3 separate regions of the Homo sapiens genome follow, and regions 2 and 3 are each linked to region 1. Evidence: promoter capture Hi-C in 16 types of primary human blood cells and fetal thymus (Javierre and others, 2016). All regions are on one chromosome and are shown on one strand. The core of a region is centred on a gene start or on the middle of the fragment in contact, and the rest is flanking DNA. Distances in the headings are between cores, read along the strand shown. Region 1 holds the start of EPS15 (epidermal growth factor receptor pathway substrate 15). Region 2 overlaps OSBPL9 (oxysterol binding protein like 9). Region 3 overlaps EPS15 (epidermal growth factor receptor pathway substrate 15).

Evidence for each region. The method cuts DNA at HindIII sites, captures the fragments that hold promoters and counts their contacts. A CHiCAGO score of 5 or more calls a contact.
Region 2: a fragment that was not itself captured here is called in contact with the fragment with the promoter of EPS15 in region 1 in 1 of 17 cell types (neutrophils); the score reaches 5.6 in neutrophils.
Region 3: a contact is called between a fragment that was not itself captured here and the fragment with the promoter of EPS15 in region 1, in 1 of 17 cell types (megakaryocytes). The highest score is 5.1, in megakaryocytes.

Annotation. Positions count from the first base shown.
Region 1 is chr1:51,517,560-51,521,666 of GRCh38, reverse strand. It overlaps EPS15 (epidermal growth factor receptor pathway substrate 15), which reads left to right and starts at 2,401. Exons shown (of 25, transcript NM_001981.3): 1 at 2,401-2,468. The coding sequence starts at 2,436. It overlaps EPS15-AS1 (EPS15 antisense RNA 1), which reads right to left and starts at 3,395. Exons shown (of 5, transcript NR_183651.1): 1 at 3,221-3,395. It also overlaps a transcript of OSBPL9 not described here. RefSeq lists silencers at 2,178-2,367, 2,518-2,987 and an enhancer at 2,218-3,146. The HindIII fragment of the contact is 8,390 bases long and covers 1-4,107 here.
Region 2 is chr1:51,648,814-51,652,696 of GRCh38, reverse strand. It overlaps OSBPL9 (oxysterol binding protein like 9), which reads right to left. Exons shown (of 24, transcript NM_024586.6): 2 at 656-706. Among named protein-coding and RNA genes, the nearest start is that of OSBPL9, 34 kb to the right of the region's middle. The HindIII fragment of the contact is 8,753 bases long and covers 1-3,883 here.
Region 3 is chr1:51,358,835-51,362,806 of GRCh38, reverse strand. It overlaps EPS15 (epidermal growth factor receptor pathway substrate 15), which reads left to right. Exons shown (of 25, transcript NM_001981.3): 24 at 1,452-1,636. Among named protein-coding and RNA genes, the nearest start is that of TTC39A, 30 kb to the right of the region's middle. The HindIII fragment of the contact is 7,902 bases long and covers 1-3,972 here.

The DNA of each region.
Region 1 (4,107 bases), core at 1,152-3,651:
CTGAATTCGTGCTCTGTGCAACTGCCTCAGTCTCCTGTGTAGCTGGGACTATAGGCATGTGCCACCATGCCTGGGTAAGGTGTGCTTTTGACTTAATATAAATCATATAAAAGTTAAAACAGTAATAATTCCTTACTTTTCCTGTATGAGAAACTGAAGCTCAAAGAGGTTAAATGGTTTGCCTGCGGTCACACTCTGATTCTTAATATTCTCTTTGCTACTCTGCACTGCCTTTCCGGAAACTACATGGCAGGGTTTCCACCTTATTCATCTGAGAGGAATATCTTACATCTCATATGGTTTGGAGGAGTCCCCTTGAATAGCAAGTGAAATTATACTCCCCAAAGCGATTTGCTCCATGATTTTCAGATTTCATAATTTGTGTAGCTACAAGTTTAGGCACTTTTGTATATGTCATCTCATTCATCCTCACAACAACCCTAAGGGCATACAACTAGTGAATGGGAGAGCCAGGAATGGAACCTGGATATTCCTAATGTCTGAGTCCTATTTATTTCACTATACTATGCTGCTTTGTCTATCAGTTGTATAACCCTGGGCAAATCACTTAGCCTCTGTGACCCTGCATTACCTCATTTGTAAAGTGAGTATGACGATTACTTCCTTTTAGAGTTGTGAAGCTCAAATGTGCTAATATAAAGTAGAAAACACCGGTAGAAACACCGGTTGTGGTTATGGCTGATAAGTGTACCAAAGTGAAGTAATGTAAAACAGTATCTCTTATTCTCTCTTCAGTTAAAGAGATTAGCAGCAAAAAAGAAGCCAAGGAAGATGCTCTTGAATAAGTGGTTACTCACCAGACCTATATGGCTTGCTCTTGTTAGCTGGCCTTTGCCAGAAGGAGTCTGAGTAGAATTAGGAGTTCCTTGGGAAATTTCTGGAATGGTTTGCTTGTGGAGGCAATAGTCTAAAAACTTAGGTGGGGCTAACTCCATCCTGGGTCTTGTTCAGTTGTCCCTCCTACCACGGGGACTGCTATGATAATGGTAATGGGTGTAGGCCTGATAGAGTTGTGGTTTGTTGTAATGGGAAGCCATCGTGACTAAGAAATTAAGACCAATTCGGGCAAATACATTTATTGAGGCCTCTGTGGTAGGCTAAACTATGAGGGAGATAAAGCAGTGAGTCAGCCCCTTGTCCTCAAGGATTTTACAGTGCAGTGAGGTGGAGACAAACCCTCAACTAACGCTTACAGATAAGGCAGAGTATAAAAACGGTCACATCAGAACAACTTAGAGGTGGGGTGTGGAGTTCCTAGAAGGCTTCTTGAAGTAGGTGGTATATACTCTGAGACTTTGAAGATGAATTTCAAGTAACTGGGTATTCCAACTGAAGGTTGGCAGCATCAGAAGGTGTAGGATGTGTTATGTTTAATATAGGCAGGAACGAAGGCCTTTACTGAGCATGCACTGTAATGCTAGGGTCTGACGATATAGAAATATATTGAAAACAGTTCTTGCCATTGAGGAGCTCTTAATCTAGAGGGATAGATAGGTGTAAACTGTCATTAGGGTGATGACTTCACAAGGTAGAGAAGAAAGGTTATAAAGGAGAGTGTGTAACTCTGACATAAGGAAGAGAAAAAGATACTTTGCAAAGGAGGTGAAACTTGAATTATGTCCTGAGAAAGAAGGAGGAGTTTGCTAAGTGGATGATGGGAGAAGCTAGGAGTGCTACAGGCACCAGCGTTCCCTTGTTAAACAATCTAAATGTGACAGGCACCAGGCAAATACATTTTTGCTTCCCCTTTCCAAATGGATTTTGGCTGTGGGAGGGAATGACTTAATGTCTTCTTTTCCAATATACTAGCAGATGGTTAAATATTTACAGTTAGACTTGGATTCTAATTCAGCTATATAATTAGCTGTATGACCTTAGTAAGACACTTATTTGTGTTTCAGTTCCTTCATTCATACAATTCAAAAAATAAGAGTCTAGTACAGAGCCTGGCATATATAAAGTGCCATTATTATTTTCTATCATTATCTCATTTAGTCTTTGTAAGTAACTGGGCCTCTAGTTACAATTTCCCCCATTTTTCAGAAGCAGGAGCTCAGCGTAGGTAGGTGGCCTGTCTGAAGTTCACAGGTCAATCTGCAGTCGCCTCCGCAGCCCGTCCGCTTTAATTTTATGTCCGCGCCGGGTTTTCCAAGGCGGCCCCGGGGGCAGGCTCTGGTCCGGTGGCCGAGACTCCGGCGCCAGGGTTTGGGCGGCGCCGCGGCCGGCTCCGGCGGGCGGGCAGGCGGGCGGGGCCAGGCGGGGCGGGGCGGGCGTGGGGAGGGAAGTTGTGGAAGTTAGGGGAGACGCCCGCCCGCCCGCCCCGGCCTCGCCTGCGGCCGCTCCCTCCGCCTCCTCCCCGCCCCGAGCCCCAGTCAGCCCGTCTTCCTTCCCCTCCCTTGCATGATGGAAACACCATGGCTGCGGCGGCCCAGCTCTCTCTGACACAGGTAACGCCACACGCCCGTCCGCCGGGCTTGGCCGGCCGGTGCCCCCTCCCCCACCGCCCTCAGCTTCGCCGACTTCTTGGCTTGTGGGCCAAGCAGGCAGCTTCTTGGCTTGTGGGCCGGGCGGCCGGTGTGTGTGAGGGAAAGCGGGTGCGACTGCGGGAGGGCGCCCTCCGGAGCCGGAGCCCCCCTGCGGCCGCCGCGACCTCGCCCAGGGTCGTCGGGCGCCTCCTGCCCCGCCCCGCGCGGCCCTCGCCGCCCTCCGCGCCGCTGCCGAGTGGACTGTGACCCGGCCGCGCTCTGCCGGTGCCGGGCCGGCTCCCGCGGGGCAGCTTTCACCTACCCAGGAAGTTTCCTCCCACAGGGCCGCACGCATCCCAGGTGAGCTCCTGTTGAGCTCGCGCGGGCCGGCCGCACCCCCGGGCCGCACGAGGCTCGCCCGCCAGGCCGGCTGCGCGCCGCCCCCAGTAGGAGTTGCCTTCCAGAGCCGGACGCGCAGGCCCCCCAAGCCAGTCTTTCCTCTCCAGACCTGCCTTTCTCCCAGGGTCCGACGGAAGCCCTCCCTTCCCAGAGTTTAATGTAGTTAGCCTCGCCTCCAAAGAAGTCTCATCCTACTCAACTACCCACTCTGCCGGCCCCTTCCTCCGTTCAGCCTCTCCCCCCTCCTGATCAGGTTTCCTTCTGGGTCAGACCCCCAATGCAGCCTTTTGCCACCCACGTCTGCTTCCACTTCAACTTCCCCTCGGGGGGCTCACGCCTGATCGCTGTCCAGGTGGATCCCTTTAACGGGTGTGGTGGCTCCGCCAGTCTTGGTGCCAGGAACGGCCTCCCGGGGAGCACTTTTCTTGGGGGGAATCCTCAGCAAAACCTGTTCTCGAGCTTCCCTCTTGCCTCGTTGCTTCCTGTCAAAGTCCAGTCCTTGTGCTTCTCAGAAAACCTCTAAACATCACTCACACTGGGAACCTGGTCCCTCCCTCTCTGTAAAGAAGCCAATTACAATGTAAACATGGTGTCCGGGATGATAAGGTGACAGACACCTGCCAGTTCCTTCCTGCTCCTGTGACCCAAACTCTCCCCCGCGTCTCCTCAGACGGTTCTCTCCAGAGCTGGTGGCGCGTGCTTCCCGATTGGGGCCCATCCCGTCTTCCTTGCCTGCATTGTGGTATCTCACTGCCATCTTGTACTCCTTGGCCTAGATTCGTCGGTGCTTCTAAGGCTTTAGCGCTGGGATAGGGCAAACATTTCGGCAGTGGAGTTTTCTGTGTTTAAAATCAAGAGGCTTTGGGGTGCTTTGCCTAGCACTGTAGGATAGAGAGAAAAAAATGTTTTCTCAGAAACCAGGAGTCACGTACATGCTTCATGTAAAATAACTAACCCGTGTTTGCAGGAATTCTAAGTGTCATAAGGAAAGTCTATTTCCCAGTTTTTTTGATGGTGGTGGTGGTTGTCCTGTTCTGACAAGCAGAGAACCCTTTAACATGGAATGTGGTGGTTTAGTCTTGGTTATGTATGTTTGGAAGGGTCCTCCCAAAACTCAAATTTGAACAACTACAGCACTGACTTTTAGGTATTCACTTTCTGTGAGTCTAGTTAGTGACTTGCATTAAACAAGATCCCTGTTGGCAGGCTGTTGTTTTCTGGC
Region 2 (3,883 bases), core at 57-2,556, 130 kb before region 1:
CTAGTCCTAATTGAGATGTACCCTTTGTGTAAAAAACACACTGGATTTTGAATAGTTAGTATGGAAAGAAAGATTGTAAAATATCTTAATTTTTTTTTATTAATCACATGTTAAAATAACAATATTTCAGATATACTGACCTAGATAAAATATTAATTTTGCCTGTTTCTTTTTACTTTTGAAATGTGGCTTACTAGAAAATCTTAAATTATAGATGTGGCTAACATTGTATTTCTACTGGACAGCACTGCTATATATACCATGATTAAATAGTGCTGAACAGGAAAAACAAAGCAGCGGCAGCTAACAGTTGGGATTTTTCCATTTTTTCTACTGTTGATATACCACCAACACCATAACTCACTTAATTTCCAGCCCTTGTCTCTTGTCTGTAAAGTAGAGGTTTAAGAAAATCAGAACATGCATTAAGTCATAAATACAACATTGAATCATGGGCCAAAATAACTGAGTTCTAGTCCTGGTTCTGATACTGACTAACAGTTACTTGGAGAAATCACATTTTCTCTCTGAGACTTAGATACCTGCCCCAACAATTATGTAAGGAAGCTAAACTAAATTTAGACTTCCATAATTCTATCAGAATACAATTTTCTTCTGTCAAAATTGATTTTCATAAAAATGAATAAATACTCACTCTGAGTCTAACACATCCTCTGCGAGAGCCTCTCATCATTTTGTCCTTGGACTAAAAGAAAAACAAAGCATTCAATGAATAAAACATTAACAGACTGGTAAATTGTTTTTAGAATCATCTGGGGATAAAAGGACAAGATTTACAGTAATACCCATCCCTTCTGCCAATTTCTCTTCCAAAAAGAAATTACTTATGGATAGGAAAATAAACAGATTTTAAATGAAAATGTCATACAGTCTATATAAATTAACCTAATCATAGAACTTTACACATACCTTTAATGTAACATATATTACATCATTATTTTCATTCCTTCTTCATTCCCTTAAGTACGAATGTTTCTCATACTTTAGAGAGTCAGAGAACCACCTAGAAGGCTAAGAATCACCTGGAGGTTTAAGAATCACTCCCAGATAATTATTTTTTTTTGTTTTGTTTTGAGATGGAGTCCCGCTTTGTCGCCCAGGCTGGAGTGCAATGTCTCAATCTTGGCTCACTGCAACCTCCGCCTCCTGGGTTCAAGCGATTCTCCTGCCTCAGCCTCCAGAGTAGCTGGGATTACAGGCACCCGCCACCATGCTCGGCTAATTTTTGTGTTTTTGATAGAGACGGGGTTTCACCATGTTGGCCAGGCTGGTCTCGAACTCCTGACCTCAGGTGATCCACCCACCTCGGCCTCCCAAAGTGCTGTGATTACAGGCGTGAGTCACCGCACCCAGCTGCCCCCAGATAATTATGACAAAGGCAAACAGAAGACCATACCTCAAGAAGTATTGCTTTAGCTTTACCTCTGCAATTCCCCAAATGGGTAACATTTTTTGCTTCTGTGACTTCTCATCCAATGTCCCTCAGTTTGGAATTTTCTTGACCCAAATGTTCTGCCTCGTTGTCATTCCAAGCACCTTAGCTCTGTCTGATTTAGATTTCCACCCTGGGCTCCCAGAGTCTTCTGTGTGTTCCCCTGTTGTGGCATGCATCACCCTGTGTTATAATTGCTGGTTTACTTCACCCACAAGACTACACATACCTTAGGGGGTAGGAATTGTATCTGACTTATGCCTCAGAACAGTGTCTGGTACACATCAGGTGCTCAAAAAACATTTACTGATGAAATGTAACTTAGCCTTTCTGTGTCTCTTACTAAACTGAGCCAAGCAAAGCCTATGTTATGCAAAAGTGCTATGTTTACATTCAGTAAATATTCCTAAGAGTAAATTAGTCATGTGCAATACAACAAAGTAACATCTCAAATAATGGAAGTTGAACAAATACTTAATACTTGAACAACTGGTATTTTCCTGTACTCCACCTGTGTGAGAAAGCAGCAAAACAAGCCAATATTGAATGATTATGTTTTAAAGATGATTATCCCACATGAAACTATAGATGCCCTACATCCAAAGTCTTGAGCCGTAAGAATTCATGTTCAGAAGTGATTACCGAGATACTAAACAGAGTATTCTTTTTGTTCTAACTATAAATATCAGGAATCATATATTTTAGGAAAAAAATTTCTCAATACCAAGCAGAGTTGAAAAGAGTTCTTTACTAATAACACAGTGAAAGAAAACAGTTGATGAAAACATTCCTTAAGCATTTAGTCGCCCTTTTACTGTACCCTATACTTATCTTCCCTTCAAGTGTAAAGGAAATACACAAAAATAATAATTAGATTTGAAAATCCCTGATGAGGTTAGAATGCAAAATTAACCCAAACAAGGTAAGAATATATTCATCCTTGATCCTCTTCTACTATAACACAATTTTTTAAATAAAATTACAGTAAACAGAAAAAAGGCAAGACAGGTCCCAGTGGTAATACAACTATTAGGGTTACAAATTAAACAACATTAAGAGGGCCAATTATAATCCTAGTCGTTTCCTAATTTCCTAATCCAGCACTTTGGGAGTCCAAGGCAAGAGGGTCACTTGGGCCCAGGAGTTTGAGGTCGGCCTGGGCAACATGGCGAAACTCTATCTCTACAAAAAATACAAAATATTAGCTAGGTGTGGTGGTACACACCTATAGTCCCAGCTCTCAGGAGGCTGAGAGGTGGGAGGACTGCTTGAGCCAAGGAGGTCAAGGCTGCAGTGAGCCATGACCACACCCCTGCACTCTAGCCTGGGTGACAGAGCAAAACCCTTTTTTCAACAACAACAAAAAAGAAAAAACTAAGAGAGATAACTGAAAATAATTAAAACAAATACAACCAGGAAATAATCACGCAAATCCAGAATGTGTGACATTCTACAAAACAACTGGCTTAGATTCTTGCAAAATGTAAAAAAAAAAAAAAAAAAAAAAGACTAACATGTAAACAATCGTAATAGAGCAAAAATAAGTGCTGTGGACTCCAGAAGGCTCCTCCCAGTCAAGGAAAAAGATCAGGGAAGGAAGCAAAACTGAAATGATCAGGTTTCAAGTTTCAACCTGGGGCTTTAAAAAAGAAAGAAAGAAAAAAGAAATCTGATAAAAAGAAAGGGAAGGTAGTGGGGGAAAGGCCATTCCAAGACAAGGAAACAACATCAGCGAAGGCACAGATGTAGAAAACTTTACTTTCCTATTCATAGGAGAGTAGATGTACAGACAAGAGCACAGGGTGCAGACAGGAACTTACAGATAAGACTGAAGGCCAGGAACAGTGGCTCACGCTTGTAATCCCAACACTTTGGGAGACTGAGGTGGGCAGATCACTTGAGTGAGGCCAGGAGTTCAAGGCCAGCCTGGCTAACGTGGTGAAACCCTATCTCTACTAAAAATACAAAAATTAGCTGGGCATGGTGGTGCACACCTGTAATCCCAGCTACTTGGGAGGCTGAAGTAGGAGAATCCCTTGAACCTGGGAGGCGGAGGTTGCAGTGAGCAGAGATGGCACTGCTGCACTCCATCCTGGGAAACAGTGTGACTGTTTCAAAAAAATTAAAATTAAACATTTTTTAAAATGAGGCTGAAAAGAAGATTACAGGGACCAGATCCTGAAGGGTCTGAAAAAAAACATGGAGTAGTTAAGGAAATTTAACTTTATTCAATAGTTAATGGGGAGCTACTAAAGGTTTACAAAGAGGGCAATAGCATTCTTAAAGGTGTGTTTTAGAAAAATAACACCGTTAAATAAGAGGACTTGGAGAAAGGGATAATAGCAACATTAATAATAACAATAGCAGAAGCAGCAGATCCTCACTCATTGCTGCCCCTTATGTAACAGGCACTTTATATACAGTAAACCT
Region 3 (3,972 bases), core at 1,214-3,713, 160 kb after region 1:
TAAATCATACCTCATTCCTTGGGAAATTTTCAGTCTCAGTAGTTACAGATTAATATTGCCTTTTCATCATAACCTTTCCATGGTCTTGAGCAGATAGGTTTTTTTTCTTTGACTGAAAGAATTGCATGTACAATTGTAAATATCCGATAATCTGTTGAAAAATCAGGTAAATGAGTTAAGTGATTCCTTCTAAGGAAAGGTAGCTTATGTCATATATTTCTAGAAGTGAGGTTATCAGAATATATTTAAAAATAAATAATGGTTAATTTGCACATTTAAGTTTTTACAACTTGCATGATGCCAATAGTGAGGTTGTTTTTTTAAATCTTAAGTAAAATAATATGCTAGTGTTTTTGCTCAATCTAAGAATCTTCATCCAAGTAATTGTATATCATTGTAAAAAGATTAAGGAAAAGACTGGTTTGTTGGAAAGAGCACTAAACTGGGAGTCTAAATATCTGGGTTCTGTTTCTGGATGTTCCCTGACTAACTATGATCTTAAGTGTATAATTTCATATATCTGACCCTTGGCTATTAAATGTTGGCAGTAATTCTAATTTTGCCTACTTTCACAGGATTATTGGAAGAATCCATTGAGATATGAGCATCTTTTCTAAGCAGCTACAGTGATGGAATCTGTTGTTATGATTGCTATTACCAGCTTATGCATTTTAGGAAAAAAATATATTTGGAGATATTTTGACCCCTATTTTTATTATCTTTTCTTCAAGAAGTACTAAGTTTAAGTAAGACTTAGAGAACTTGTTTGAAAATGGTAATGAATTAGTGAGTGACTAATAGGACAGAATACTATTGTTTGGTCAGAGATTATTTGATCAGCAACCGCAAAGATTTAGGCCCTGGGCTTCAAAACATTTTTTCTTCATTTTGAAATACAGTAAATAACAAAAAATTGGCAGCATTTTACTACGGTAATTTAAAAATTTTATGCTCTTAGGTATTGTATGTAGAACTAGAGAAAAATCAGAAGAATTTTCCCAGTTTTCAGAGGTCATTTGCTCTTACTGCCACTAGTGGATAACTGTTATCAGGCTGAGGGCTGTAACAGCAGAGGCAGGCCATTTCTGTCTTTATTCTTTATTATTCTCCTTCTGTTTAATCCATTCGTCTCTCCTTTTGGGAACATGCTGCTTGGGTGTGGCTAGGGGATGGTGGGATTCAGTCTTTGGACAAAAATATGATTCCTGGCCCATCCTTACTTTGCTATTTGTTTCATTAGCTGCACATAGCTGGAATCTATTTGAGAGATCATGTGTGAAGAATTTGAGGACAAATTGTTGGTGTAGCTATTTAAGACAATATTCAGAATGTGTTTTAGGTACTCAATCATCCTCTACCCACAGTACTTTAATGCTATCTGTGTACATGTTCTTGTGTGCTTGTATTTGCTGTATTTACTGGTTGAATTAATTGTAATGATTTTGATCCAGGGAAAAGATCCATCAACAAATTGGATTCTCCTGATCCCTTTAAACTGAATGATCCATTTCAGCCTTTCCCAGGCAACGATAGCCCCAAAGAAAAAGATCCTGAAATATTTTGTGATCCATTCACTTCTGCTACTACCACTACCAATAAAGAGGCTGATCCAAGCAATTTTGCCAACTTCAGTGCTGTAAGTACTGTGAATGAGCTGTTTGGGGGAGAAATCTTTAAAGAGTTTTCAGAGATTATTTTGGAGTCTGCCAAGTTTGCATCATTTTAACTAAATTTACCAAGATACTAAAAATGATCTTTCATTCTTCCCCCAAGCAAAACCTCTGTTTGATCCTGTTTTGACAGTTCTACGGTTGTTCCATCGCACAGATGATTTTAGTAGTCCCAGTTCTTGTCATATACACAAGTTGTTTTGTAAATCTTTCTCTTAGTCTTGGTAATGTAAGTAAAATCCTAACAGTTATTATTTTGTGGATGGTTATGGGTGATGGTGATTTAATGAACAATTACAGAGTCATTGCTCTCTGCCCACTAGATGAATAATGCCAGTAATAAGTTTGTGTATTTGCAGCTGTGTATGTGTGTTTGTGTATAAAGTTTTAATGATTTCTGGAGACCAGTCAGCAAATATTATATGAGAGGATAGAGCCAGAGATTCTTTGAATAGAAAGTAAAACTATTAAACTTACACAGTAGCTTTTTAAAAATGTAAATGCCAGTTTTATGAAATAAATAAATAAATGGTTGTCAGGATTTAAACAATCTTTATTTGGAGGGCCCTAATTCACTAACTTCTCATGTTTACTCTGCGTTCTTTCAGAGATGTCTAAAATAGGAAGATCGTTAGAAACAGTGGAAGGGTGCCATGATAACAGCATAAGCAGGGCCTATAAAATCACAGAAATGGGGCAACCAACCATGGAGGTATCAGTCTAGAGAGACATAAAGCAATGTCATATATTCCATCATTATTCAGTAAAAAAAGTTATTTTTTAATAAAATTCTTAGACCGGGTAACAAATTTTCAGTTTCACAGTTTTTTCAGGCAAAATAACCTTCGTTATCATTGCCTGTTCTATAAAACAGAGATTTTCTTCTATTTATCACCTTATGCCCTTGAGATGATTTTGGAAATAGATCTAGTGGCCAGGTAACTCTGCCTAATATTTCCCTCCTCAGTGTAGCATTGGGCCATTCAACCAATTGCTTTATTCCTGCAGCTGTTTCTAGTTAGAAGGGAGGTAGTCAAGAATCTGCATGCAGGCCGGGCGTGGTGGCTCACGCCTGTAATCTCAGCATTTTAAGAGGCCAAAGTGCTTTAAGCACCTGTAGTCCCAGCTACTTGGGGGGCTGAGGTGGTGGAGGTTGCAGTGAGCTGTGATCATGCCACTGTACTTCAGCCTGGGTGACAGAGCCAGACCCTGTCTCCAAAAAAAAAAAGAATCTGCATGCAACTAAGACGACTGAGCTCCCAGCTTTTGAATCTGTACTCTAAGTTCTGGTGGCTTCTCTTGACTATGAAGGAGCAAAATAGGAATCAATATTTTGAATATTGTAAAAATGGAGTGCCAGAATTATACTGATTTTTTTTTTTTTTTGAGATGAGTTTTGCTCTTATTGCCCAGGCTGGAGGCGCGATCTTGGCTCACCACAACCTTCACCTCCCAGGTTCAAGCAATTCTCCTGCCTCAGCCTCCCGAGTAGCTGGGATTGCAGGCATACCCACCACACCTGGCTAATTTTGTATTTTTAGTAGAGACGGGGTTTCTCCATGTTGGTCAGGCTGGTCTTGTACTCCTGATCTCAGGCGATCCACCGGCCTCAGCCTCTCAAAGTGTTGGGATTACAGGTGTGAGCCATCGCGCCCAGCCTTACTTAACTTTCCTTTTTTTTTTTTTTTTTTTTAAAGACAGAGTCTTGCTCTGTCGCCAGGCTGGAGTGCAGTGGCGTAATCTCAGCTCACTGCAACCTCCACCTCCCAGGTTCAAGCAATTCTCCTGCCTCAGCCTCCCAAGTAGCTGGGACTACAGGCACGCACCACCACACCTAGCCAATTTTTGTGTTTTTAGTAGAGACGGGGTTTCACCATGTTGGCCGGGATGGTCTCGATCCCTTGATCTTGCAATGTGCATGCCTTGGCCTCCCAAAGTGATGGGATTACAGGGGTGAGCCACCGCATCCAGCCCGACTTAACTTTCATTAGATGGAATTTGATTTGTTTCAAGCAGAGAATCAAAAATTGGCCTTTTTAGAAGGTTATAATTCTCTTAGTGTAAAATAACCCTCTGGTAGTTTGTGGCATTTAATATCTTAAGTATGGTTTTAGCAAGTCAAACTCTTGTTGGGGCCAGACGGGGTGGCTCACACCTGTAATCCCAGCACTTTGGAAGGCCGAAGCGGGCGGATCACTTGAGGTCAGGAGTGTGAGACCAGCCTGGCCAACATGGTGAAACCCCGTCTCTACTAAAAATACAAAAATTAGCCAGGCATGGTGGCGCATGCCTGTAATCCCAG